Regions from separate parts of the Homo sapiens genome. Here region 1 is linked to region 2. The links are contacts of gene promoters, found by promoter capture Hi-C in human tissues and cell types (Jung and others, 2019). All regions are on one chromosome and are shown on one strand. The core of a region is centred on a gene start or on the middle of the fragment in contact, and the rest is flanking DNA. Distances in the headings are between cores, read along the strand shown. Region 1 overlaps ITGBL1 (integrin subunit beta like 1). Region 2 holds the start of ITGBL1 (integrin subunit beta like 1).

What was found. Contacts are between HindIII fragments. The study calls those that stand out against the background at their distance.
Region 1: a contact is called between a fragment that was not itself captured here and the fragment with the promoter of ITGBL1 in region 2, in 1 of the 25 tissues and cell types used here (H1 embryonic stem cells).

Annotation. Positions count from the first base shown.
Region 1 is chr13:101,581,312-101,587,548 of GRCh38, forward strand. It overlaps ITGBL1 (integrin subunit beta like 1), which reads left to right. Exons shown (of 11, transcript NM_004791.3): 6 at 1,905-2,045. Among named protein-coding and RNA genes, the nearest start is that of ITGBL1, 130 kb to the left of the region's middle. The HindIII fragment of the contact is 3,440 bases long and covers 499-3,938 here.
Region 2 is chr13:101,448,777-101,455,096 of GRCh38, forward strand. ITGBL1 (integrin subunit beta like 1) reads left to right here and starts at 3,899. Exons shown (of 11, transcript NM_004791.3): 1 at 3,899-4,155; 2 at 5,107-5,324. The coding sequence starts at 4,058. RefSeq lists enhancers at 944-2,143, 3,477-3,981. The HindIII fragment of the contact is 7,410 bases long and covers 1,211-6,320 here.

The sequences.
Region 1 (6,237 bases), core at 969-3,468, 130 kb after region 2:
TCCTATTATGAGAGCAATGCATATTCATTTTTTAAAATCTAGATAATAAAGTAGAGTACACAGAAAAATAAGAAAGTGACCCATAAACCTAACTTCCAGGTGTAACCTCCTTTTACATTTTGGTACATGAGCTTTCAGTCCGTATTTATTTATTAAAATTCATTTTTATGGCTGCCCTATCCCTGTATTTCCTTCTTATTAAAGAAAAAAAATCAAATCATACTGCACGTGCTGATTTGTAATTTTACAGTTTTATTTCATGATATATGTTGTTTATCTTTCCATATTTATGGGGCAAAAACCTAATTTATTACTTAGTGATTGCTAGGTAGTCCATATGTGTGTACCATTACTGCGCTAATTCCCCATTGAACAATATTTCGGTCACTAGTAATTTTTCAAAAACATAAATACAACTATATTTTATATTTCTGAACATACACTTGTGTGTACTTTTTCTTTCTGTTGGGTACATTAATTAAAGTGAGCTATAAGTCTGAATAATAACACAGATATAAAAAGTACATATTGCAAAATCGCTACCCAGAAAGTTGTACCATTTCGTACTCCCCTTCAGGGCAAGAAAGTACCCATTGTCCCACACCTTTACCGAGTCTGGATCCAACAATATTTTCCACCTCTGACGATCTGACTTCTAAAATAATTGCCAATCACGATTATTTTGAAGATCTGCCACTGCTACCCACTTAGTAGTGGTTGATTGAGTGATAAACATTTTTCATCTTTATCTGTCATTATTTCTGTATGAAATTTCCTTTTGTTCTTTCCTTTTGTCTATTTCACTTTGGGCATATTAATCCTTTATATATTCAATTCTATGATTTATTTATATGTTTTTGAAATTGTTCTTTGTCTTTTACAGACATATTAACTACTTGTTTCAGCTTTGTCAGTCTTTTTTTTACAGTGTTTTGTTTCCAACCAAAATTTTCAATTTTTATGGAAATTTTCAATTTCCTTTTTTAGTAATTGTGCTTTGGGGTCTTGAATAAAAAGAGTTTAGTTCATATTATACAGTTTTATTTTGTACGTTTAAATCTTTAATCCAACTGGTACTTATTTTGATGTAAGAGGTAAGAAAAGGATTTAACTTTATGTCTCTATCAAATGATTAGCTGGTTGCCCTAAAGACAGTTACTGATAATCCACACAGAGTAAACATGATGTACAGCTGGGCATTTCCCTCTGCAAATCTGCAAATGACCAAGTTTATGTCTCTCAATCTGATCTCCAACATTCTCTATAATCTGGGCTCATCTGATCTAGCAAACCTTACTTCTTAGTCTTTTTTATTTTTTAACATGCACCTCAGGGTCCCTATGCCCATCCCTACCCTTCTTTGCTCAGTCTTTTTTTCTTGACTTTCTCTTAGTTCTACCTCCAATGTCTCCTAGAACATTTCCTCTAATCCCTATATATCCAATCCATCCACTGCTAATTACTCCAACACTCATTGATCCTCTTTCTCCAAATTCTTAGAGCATTCATGTCTTAGTTTACAAAATATTTGCACATTGTTTTTAGTGTTTGTTAATTTTTCTTTCTAATTAGCTTTCTATTTGCCAAATAGATTGCAAGCTTCTTGGGGGAAAGGATTATATCTTATATAAATTGTTTTAGTGTTATCTTTGAAGGAAACTAACATAATACTAATGACACATTCCACCAACTCACATAATTATAGAATAGATAATAACTTTTGTTTATTAAGGAATCTCTATTATCAATATTAGATGGTGTTTTTCCTTTTTAGAATATTTTTGTCTGAATATATGTGTTTTTTTCAAACACAAAGTAAACAGAAAATAATAAGCGATATGTGAAATGCTTTCTTTCATGGTTTTTCTTGACTGGATTCTTATAAAATTCTTCTTCCCACCTAGGGACTTGTGTATGTGGTGAATGTACCTGTCACGATGTTGATCCGACTGGGGACTGGGGAGATATTCATGGGGACACCTGTGAATGTGATGAGAGGGACTGTAGAGCTGTCTATGACCGATATTCTGATGACTTCTGTTCAGGTAAGGGCTCTTCCAATTCCTGTTTTTCTGGAGGGGGAGGTGGGGCTTGTTAATGGGTAAAAAAAAAAAAAAAGCAATTAGAAAGAATAAATAAGACATACTGTTGGATAGCACAATAGGGTGACTATAGTCAATAACTTAATTGTACATTTTTAAATAATGTAAAGAGTATAATTGGATTGTTTGTAACACAAAGGATAAATGCTTGGAGGGGATGGATACCCCATTCTCCATGATGTACTTATTTCACATTGCATGCCCGTATCAAAACATCCCATGTACCCCATAAACATATGCATCTACTATGTACCCACAAAAATTTAAAAAGTAATGAATAAAAAATAAAAATGCATATTTCCCTGTTTTCAAGATTTCTGATTCTCACATACCCTGTAAAAGAAACTGAATGTGTATTCTAAAGCATCTTATATTTGCAGTGCTCCTACTGGTAACTTGGAAAACCTCCAGAGAATTCCCAAAGTTGGCAAAGACTAGAGATGAGAGGGCACCCACTCTTTTAAAGTTAGTCTAATTCCTCACCCAGGAGAACCATTAGCTCTAGATAGCTACTCAGTTCAACTCTGAGACTACAAAACTAGCAGAGCTGTTGACAATGAACAGGATAGTTATCATTAGGGCACCTATATTAATGTATTACAAAACAGGATAATACAGTGCTCAGGGTTATTTTGTGCATTAACTCTTTGATAGGCTTTAATGTTATTCTGCAATGTAGTCTGTAATTAAATATCAATTAGTAGATTCAAAAATCTTTGACTGTAAATACTGTGGGGCAGATACTGTCTGTTAGGGACTGAGTGACATCTGGGCTACTGGTGTAGTAGGAGCCAGTAGGGGACAGGAGACAGCCATGAACTTTGACTTCATGGAGTTTGCAATCTAAATGCAAATAAATAAAATATGTAAGTCCAGGATGTCTAATAGTGCAAAGAAAAAGAAAGCAGTCAGAAGTCTATCTGAAAAGGTATCATTTAGCAAAAATGGAGTTATAGATTTTCAGTCCAGTTCTATTTGATAACCCATAAGGTAGACACATACACATATACATCTTGCTAAGCTTGACTGCCTCATTGGTGCATGCAGATGGATAGAAACTCCTCTGGTCTCCTGAAAGTTTGCCAGCAAAGGGAGATAAAAGAACTGTCCCATTTAATTATGAGTGTGCAACTTCAAAGGCTTCTCCAGACTGACTGGGGAAAGCCTGCTGCTAAATCTTCCCATTGCAGAAGGGTTTCCCTCTTCTGATAATCTCTTGTGCTCCAGAGGATTTCCTAAACATTTTGTGAACACTATTCTCTTGAGGGTATTTTTTTCTATTATTAATTATACATGCTCATGTTCTTCATTATCATTGCTGTCAACACAGTGGTAATAAAAGAGCTCATGACTAGTGAGTGGCTTCTGTGTTCCAAAGAGATGATGAGAATAGTGGGGAAGAGGCCTGTTGGAGATTTTAATTAGGATGATGTGGCTCTTCACAGTGGTGGTGATGTAGGGCTCATGAATTGCAGGAGGCTATTGGATCACAGTGCATGTGGGTTTTATCCTAAAAAAAATAGGCTTGCAGGTAAAGAAAGATGAGAGGGGCATTCCAAGCAGAAGGAACAGAGGGATAGAATCTGTGTATAGGACCAGACTCAGTTTGAAATTACCAGAATGCAGAATTAAGGAAGCATGTGGTAAAAGGTAAAGTTGGTTGAGAAACAAGAACTGGGGGGCTTTTTACCTTCCTGCAGACCCAGGTTTTATTCTAAAGGCAATGAGGAGCTAATGATGGTTTTAGGCAATAGAGTGCTGTCATCACCAGATTTCTAGTCTGAGTGTCTGGGAAAATGTTGGTGCCATTTACTGAAATAGGGAATATGGAAGGAAGCTGTCAAGTTTGTTTCTAGACATCTCCAGCATAGAGGGCAAAGGGTAAGCCAAAGTTTATATTTTTTCCCAGCCTGTTGAATATGTGAGTCAGGGTCAGGGTTAAACCAAGAGAATTTCAAGTTGTAAGCATAGAGTTGGTGGTTAAAACTATGCTGGCATTCAGGAAATGCCATTTGACAATACCATTTTCTTTTTTGAGATGGAGTCTCCCTCTGTTGCCCAGGCTGGAGTGCAGTGGCATGATCTCAGCTCACTGCGAGCTCCACCTCCCAGGTTCACACCATTCTCCTGCCTCAGCCTCCCGAGCAGCTGGGGCTACAGGTGCCCACCACCACGCCCGGCTTATTTTTTTGTATTTTTAGTAGAGAAGGGTTTCACTGTGTTAGCCAGGATGGTCTCAATCTCCTGACCTTGTGATCCGCCAGCCTCGGCCTCCCAAAGTGCTGGGATTACAGGTGTGAGCCACCTCCCCCGGCGGCAATGTCATTTTAAGATTGCTTTTGAGATAAACATGATTTGACACAATTTAAAATAAGAAAATAAGGGAGGCATATAAAAGGCAGTATTTTAAAATTGTAAGTGTGTGACTTGCTGATATGGAGCCCCTTTTTCCTATGGGTATTCACTCTCTTGTGAAATCCATAATTCTGATGTTGATCCTGATTTTGGACTGGGGTTGAAAAATTCAAACTAACTACATTATAGCGATAATTCAGGGTCCTGTGAGCCAGTCCATCTCACTGTGAGGGAGTGGGGTCATGGGGTAAAGATGGGTGATCACTCCTGAACTGACACTTCAATCCTCGTGTAAGCTTGTGTGCAATTCCCGCAGCGTGTCATTTAGTCTTGGAGTGCTTACTCTAGGCTGAGCAGGTGAAGTGTCATTAAGGAGGCTGCACTGGAATCTAATTTTCCACCTCACCTATTCCCCTCCAACCCCTCTTCCCTGTTTTCCTTTTTCTCACATTTTCCTTTCTTTCATACCCTATGAGATTCCACACAGTGGGTATGGACAGGTAGGGGTAGGAAGAGGTGATGGCACAATTGGCTGTAGTTTGAACAAGAAAACATCAATCTATTATTGTGATTTTATGATTCGCTGGTTGAAGTGAATTGAACATGGCCAGCTTTCCACAGCTTGGCTCCCACACTTAGAATGAGGAATTGAGGAAAGAGGAAGAAACTCATATTTACAGAGACTCTACTCTATTGGACCCTTGCTGAGTTCTTTTATAAACCTCATTCCATTTTATGTACACACTAACTCAGAGAGGGAGGCATTATTGTCTATAGTTTAGCAGAAGAGAAAATACATTCAGAGAAATTAAGTAACTTGATAAAGTTCACACTGCCATAAAAGTGTCATCTGAAAACACATATAGCCTGACTACTCATGTAACTTAATCTCCAGGTGATGCAAATACAATTCTCCAGTTTTACTTTATTTTTCTGAGGAAGAACTGTCCTCTGGGTACTCAGATTTTTTTAAAATAAAACTAAGCTTCTCTGAACATCATTACAATCTGGAGCAGACATCAACCTCTGCAGTATTTCATCATTCTTACAGAATCTGTAGAATTCTATATACTGTATGGTATTATGCTTATTAGTCTTTAAATTTTTCCTAATTAACAGTCTAAGTTGCAGTGTAAGAAGAGTGCCATATAGTTGATTATTGAGTATATTAATACCTTTGTGTTATGAGACAGAAGTAACCCAATGACATCAATATTCTCTAGTCTTTCATGCAAGACTAGAACATAATAAGGCTCTGATGAAATGAACTTTTATTTTTAGCTCCTATTCTTGCCATCCTGAGAGTTTTGGTCTTATTTAAGTCCAAGGGAAGTCTCTGGACGGATTAGTTTAAGTTAGCTCTTTTAATTGACATTCTCATTTTATTCATTCATTTCCATTCTCTCCATTTATCTGTTCAATAATGCATTTAAATGTAAATATTTTATGCCTAACACATCATGAATATAGGGAACACAAATATGTTGAAACATGGTCCCTGCACCCACCAAATAAATCAATTTTATTTACTTCTTTTAATCCTGTCTGTTGTTCATCATCCACAAAATATGTGTGTTTGTGTATGTTCATTTGCCCATACACCAACATGACTGTTATACTACACACATACACGCACCCCTCAAAGACAATACGGTTGACACAATTTGAGTGTGACTGAAATGATCAGGGCATGAATGGGCATCCTGACGTGTCCCGACTGTCCTGTTTGTTACACCCAATTTACTTTCTGATTCTAATATAACTGCTTTATTCCTAATGG
Region 2 (6,320 bases), core at 2,649-5,148:
TTATGTTGTACATTATTTTTAGTTATTTTTGCCATAAATATATATCGAGTATGTAATATGTATTGGGCACTATTTTAGATGATGGCAGAAAAAAGTGGTAGCCTATGTAATGGTAAACTAAGAAAAGTAAAGCAACCGATGGGATCTTTCATAATATTTTTCTGGGCAAAATGAAGAAATAGGTTCATATCAGACAACTCAGTACACTTGTAAGTGGTTGGATGGCCTCTTCAATATGTGCTAAGAGGCTAATATTGTCTTAAGAAAGATTGTATCTAAACTTGGTCCTCAGCCTAATTTTTTTTCAAATATCTTCTTAATTATTTGAATAAAGGTACAGAATGTGTGCTCATCATATTACTTTTGAGAGGGTGAAATAAATATAAAACAAGTAACCATAGTTATTTTTACCGACTGGATAAAAGAACAAAGCTTAGATGAAAAATAATAAAGATAAATATCAATTTGTGTTTGGGGAAAAATACACTTTTAAAAGCACACAACTGGGACAACGTGGCATTCAAAAAAGTGAATATGACCTTCAGTTTTATTGGGAGAAATATAGCATATGAAACAAGAATACTCAAAGTACTGATCTATTCCACATCCATTAGGCCACAGCTTCTTGAATGGTTTCAGTTGTATATATCATACTTTCCAAAAGGCATCCATCCCAGAAAAAGCAAAAATGCTCAGAAAATCAGGGTTTTGAAAGCTTGAAGTTATAATACGTAAGAAAGAGGTGAAGGCAATGAAAATATTTATCTTTAAGAAGTGTAGAATTGTTTGGGGGTTATATAGACTGGGGAATATACTATTACATCATTGAATATTTGATTCAAGGCTAGTGGCTAGAATATTATTTTAAATGTCTTCTTAGAGTAGACCTGGAACCAAGGGGTGAAACCTTCAAAGCAATTCTCAGAAAAGGATGTGGTCCTCTTAATTTTTGTTTTTTTACCAAGGCCACCTAATTACTTGGCAAATATACGGTATGTTATCAACAAATTTAGTTTTGAACTAGACAACCTTTAAAAAATACCTTGAAGGCTGAAATTCTCTGATTGTGTAACCTGAGGACTGAAGGACTCCATTCAAGGACTAGGGTGTTTTCAATCTTTTTGAATTCAGTTCCAGATGCACCCGGTCCTTTCAGGCACCCTTCATTATGCATCCAACCTACTGCTGTGTCCCCAGCCAGCAGAAGTGAGAAACTCAGGACCTTTCTTGGCACATGTGCGTCCTTGAGGTTCTGAAAACTGGGAAAATGGAAGGAGTAGGTGTTTCCAAGGCATTCAATACTTTGGTTAAAAAAAAAAAAAAAGAATGCTAAAAGGCATAAATTTAAAGTTACCCTTTGATTTTGACAGAGTTTCTGTGGATCCAAGACTTTCGACTGAGTCACCAAGTCAGCCACAATATAACTATTTCAACTGACTGGGAATATTATTTCTGAGTCATAGTAATGTAATGATCTGAACATTTATATTCTCTCAGTTACCTAGTACATACTAACTTCATTTCAAAGGTGAATAATATATTAAAGAGAATATTGCTTATTGAATACTACACTGTATGAAAATACTACAGGTTAAAAAATCACTTAAATCCATTAAAAATGTTCAAATATCAAGTCCCTATTTCATAATAAATTTTCCCTCAGAAAATATGCAAGGAGTAAACAATACATGACTCATTTATTAAAGCTTCCATGTTTTTATTGCAAATTCCTAGTTGGGCTTTGGAATAGATACTTCCCTTCTATCATTACCACATTCTCTGAGTCACTAGGTTTCTAGATGTTGACAGGAAAGCCTGTTCCTATGTCCTTGTACTATCACACGTGGGCAGGATAAAATGTAACTCTAGAATTTGTACTAAAGGTGGGTGGAAATTCCACTCTTAGATCCAGGCACCCTCAGGCGTCAGCCCTGAGCCCTGTGCTTTGCAAACTTCTCAAGCTATTATTATGTAAAAATAGATATCTTGGGATATTATTCAAATGCACTCTGTGATTCCTTAGAGCTGGGGTTGGGGCCTGAGAAGTTGCATTTCCATAAGTTCCCAAATGATGCTGATGTTGCTGCAGGTCCATGGACCACGCTTTAAGAACAACTGACTTAGTAATTCCCATTCTGTCTCTTTTAGACAGGCCCTTCCCCCACAGGCTGCAGTTCATGTGACTTAGGGAACCTGCCAACTCAGAACCTGTGTCCTTTTTTCCTAAGCCGCACTTTGGTTATCCAAGACCCCAGAATTACCTGTCCAGACAGCCTCCCAAAACTGTGCATACCTGTCCCCAGTCTGTCCTTGCAATAGAAGACTCCACCAGTGTGTACACACCTGTATCTAAGTGTGGCCAGAAAATCAGCTATTTGAAAAAGGTTAAATTGTGTGGGTAGGGGTTGGGGGGTGGGGGGACACACAGATGGGCCTCATGCAAAACCTCCCCTATTACAGGGTGGAGATTGGGGTAGAAACAGAAATGTACTATGATTAGAGGACCTTCATCGTCTTCTTGCTCCAGCAGGCTAGTGTTGTGGTGGTCTTACCCTTATACCTACTTATATATAAAGGACAGGGAGAAATCCCATCCTATTATGGCTCATCCCTGATTTTAAGGATCTGGGACCACAGATGATTCTTGGATGGTTCTATTTCATGAGGAAGGATTGCATGTACAGTGCTCTTCTTAGGGTGAATGAAAAATGTTTTCCCCCTTCCATATAACCCTCTACACATTTTCCCAGATGACCATAAATGTAGGGGATAGTGTATGCACTTTGGATTTCAGCTGAAATACGACTAACTTCCTCTGTGAATTTGAGCAAGTCAGTTGACCTCTTTGCCCTCAGTTTCTTTATCTTTAAAATGGGAGTAAGAATGTCTCCCTGTTCTCTTCCATCTCCTTCTTATTTCTACCCAATTTAATTCAATACTTTTTTCAGTTTTTTGTTCAGATGCTACCATCTTTGATTAGATCAAGTGCCTGTATCTCATCTGGAAGTAACTTCTCACTGCACTTGCAACCCTTTGTTCTTTTTTTTTGTGGTTTTGTGTTGATTAATGTCTTTCTAGCTCATTGGACTCTGAGAGAGCAGGGATCATGTCTCCTTAGTTCTCTGTTATATTCATTCTGTCTTGCACAAAACCTGGCACCTGATAGATGCTAAATCCCCATTTGCTAATGCATAAATAAATGTGTGATTATTGTCATAATTAGAGAAAACATACTAAATGACTGGCACATAGTAGGTGCTTAGTAAATGACACCAATTGTTTTTCAGTGCAATTTGTGCTATAAATAAACATTTAATTTTCTTTTCTCACATTTGATATATGGGGAGAATGGGGTGAATTTGAGACAACTACAATTTAAACTGTCCAAGTCACCAACAAATTGTGGTGTGATAAGCTACTGGCCTAAACAGCTGGAAGCATGACACGCTTTTTAAAGACTAAAGAAATGAAATATCCAGTTTAAATCAAAGGATAATAAATGCAAGAAAAAGTTGTGTTTGTCAGATTTCCTTGCCCCGGCCCCAACCCAAACTCCAAAGAGTGCATCTACTTTAAAAGCGTGTGGTGAAAGTAATTCCCTACCCAAGTGTTCCCACTACTGTCACTGGCCTCACCCTTCTCCACAACTCAGGGATTATTTTAAAGGTTTCTTTAATATCGGCCAGTCCAAATATTCTCTTGTCAAATATTTCTGTGGCCCGTACTTGAAATCTGTGAACAGGACACTTTTTTTTTTTTTAATGTCAAAATAAACCATCTGCTTGTACAACTGTTTCTAATTACTTCCCTGCCTAGACTCTCCACTGAGGGGTTTGGCACCAGCACCCCGCCCAGAGCAGTGCCGCTGCCCAAATCCTCGCAGGCAGCTCATCAACGCAATTGCAACTCCGGCTGGAGCCCCGGACCTGCAAGCCTGGGTGTCCGTGGGTCCGTCTGCCCAGCCATCTGCTGGTGGCACCTCTCCCTCCTGCCGCCTCCCTCGGTGAACCCCACCTTGCAGAAGTGCAGCTCGCCCGGAGCAGCCCAGGAGCTCAGCATGCGTCCCCCAGGCTTCAGGAACTTCTTGCTGCTGGCGTCCTCCCTTCTCTTTGCTGGGTTGTCAGCTGTTCCTCAAAGCTTCTCGCCATCTCTGAGGTAAGTTTGGTTTGTTATTCTTCAGTACAGACCTGCCCTGCTTATGTGGCAGGGCTCAAGCTTGCAGGATGGCTGCCCTAAGCCAAGAGCTGTTATTAAATTGGACAAGGGATAAACTGTTTTCAACCTGTTCCTTTTCCTCTCCTTATATCTACAGCGTGTATTGCCTCATGTCTGTCCTTTTGCTTTTCCTTTGGAAAAATGCAATCATTGAATAAAAATATAATTTTCTTTTCTGCAAATACATATCAGGAGGAATTCCTGCTGTGAGTTAAAATGCTATGTGTACCAGTATCTTCTCACAACATGTAAAGCAGAATGATCTGTTTCCCAAGGGCAGCAACAGGAGGTCTGTGTTACATTTTGTATCATCCTGAAAGAGACTGAGTGAGGCACACTGCAATAGTGAAACTAAACTTTTTAAAAGTAGAGTTCCTAAAGACTGCTTAATGCAAATTATGCCCGATGCTATCATAGCATGTCTAACTCTTTCTATAGATTCACGTTTTCTCTTCTGTAATATAAGTGCCCATTGGCCATCAGATAGCAGTGGGACGTTTTTTAAAGGAGAACTGAAAAGTCAGCTGAGTGCCGTACCTTGGATTACTTTGTATTTAATCTAAATGTGCATATAAGATTTAGTGATAAACTACCAAAGAGCAGGGCAGTTCACCTCTGTCCACCTGGAGGAAGGACCTGTGTCCGGGGGCAGGTCACCCATTACACATTTTGGGCCCTGGTCATTTCTCTGGTGGGTGATACCTGTTTGCTTGGGAAAATACAGCCCTTCCAGGCAGCGCTTGGACCCCAGAGAGATGTGGGCCTCAGGCGTCCTGTTCTTGGGGTTGTACGTCTGCACCTGGAGGGGACACTGGGGAGGAAACGTGGGTTCGGAGCAGGGGGCGGCGTCCGCGTCTGACCCGGCCTGCCGGTTGCTTGTCGCCCGCGCAGGAGCTGGCCGGGCGCCGCCTGCAGGCTGTCCCGGGCCGAGTCGGAGCGACGCTGCCGCGCACCTGGGCAGCCCCCGGGGGCCGCGCTGTGCCACGGCCGGGGCCGCTGCGACTGCGGCGTCTGCATCTGCCACGTGACTGAGCCGGGCATGTTCTTCGGGCCCCTGTGTGAGTGCCATGAGTGGGTGTGCGAGACCTACGACGGGAGCACCTGTGCAGGTAAGAGGGCGGCGCTGTCTCCTCCCTCGGGAGGTCGAAACTCCTCTTCTGGGATTTCTGCCACTCCCTAGAAGAGTGAAGGGTGGGGACACGCCTCCCTTCACATAAGCACCAATTAAGTTACTGCGATTGTCACACTTTGGCTAGTTAATTCTGGCATCATTTATCACAACACTTTTATCCCCCAGGCTCTGAACTTGAATGGAAGTAAAGTTTTAAAAATTCATTCACTTAATTATATATTTTATTGTAATTATGATTTTTTAAAGTTGGGATCTTGCTATGTTGCCCTGGCTGGTCCCCCCCCCCCCCCCCAACTCCTGGAATCAAGCTATCCTCCCTCCTGAGCTTCCCAAAGTGTTGGGATTACAGGCGTGAGCCACTGCACCTGGCCGTCATTTGCTTAATTCTAAAATCTCACTTGCCTCTAAAGTTCCTCATTATAGACTAAATTCCCCAATGTCCTCACAAATGGAGTTATTTTACTGGGTTCTCCTATCCCTATCAAGAATGTTAATGATAATATTTGTAGATCTTAGGCCTGTATTTTATTTTACATAGGAAACAGTGGGAGGGGGAATGTATTATTTTCCTCCATTCTAGGGAGGCAGGTTTTGTCTTTGAAGCCTGATTTGCCCTCTCATTATTAGAATATAGTTCACAGGCAGGAGTGCATATCAGAAAACTGTAACAAGGAAAAAAGTAAACGGGCACATATTTACTTAGAATGACTGTTCTTGCATTGTTCTAGCTGCTTGAATTTTTGAGTTGCAATGAAACTTGGTATTTTCTGAGGGTGGAGTGAAAATACATTCATTTCCCTTGCACATTTTTAAGGAGTGATTCAGGTTCTGATATTGGAAAGGGTCAAAAAATTCCTTCCCAGAGAACACCCTTAACCTCTTTACCTGTGTCGTTTTACTTAAGGCCAAGAGCCTCAATTAGTGCCTTGTGAGTGACACAGAACTCCATTAGTGAAAGCACAACACAATGCAT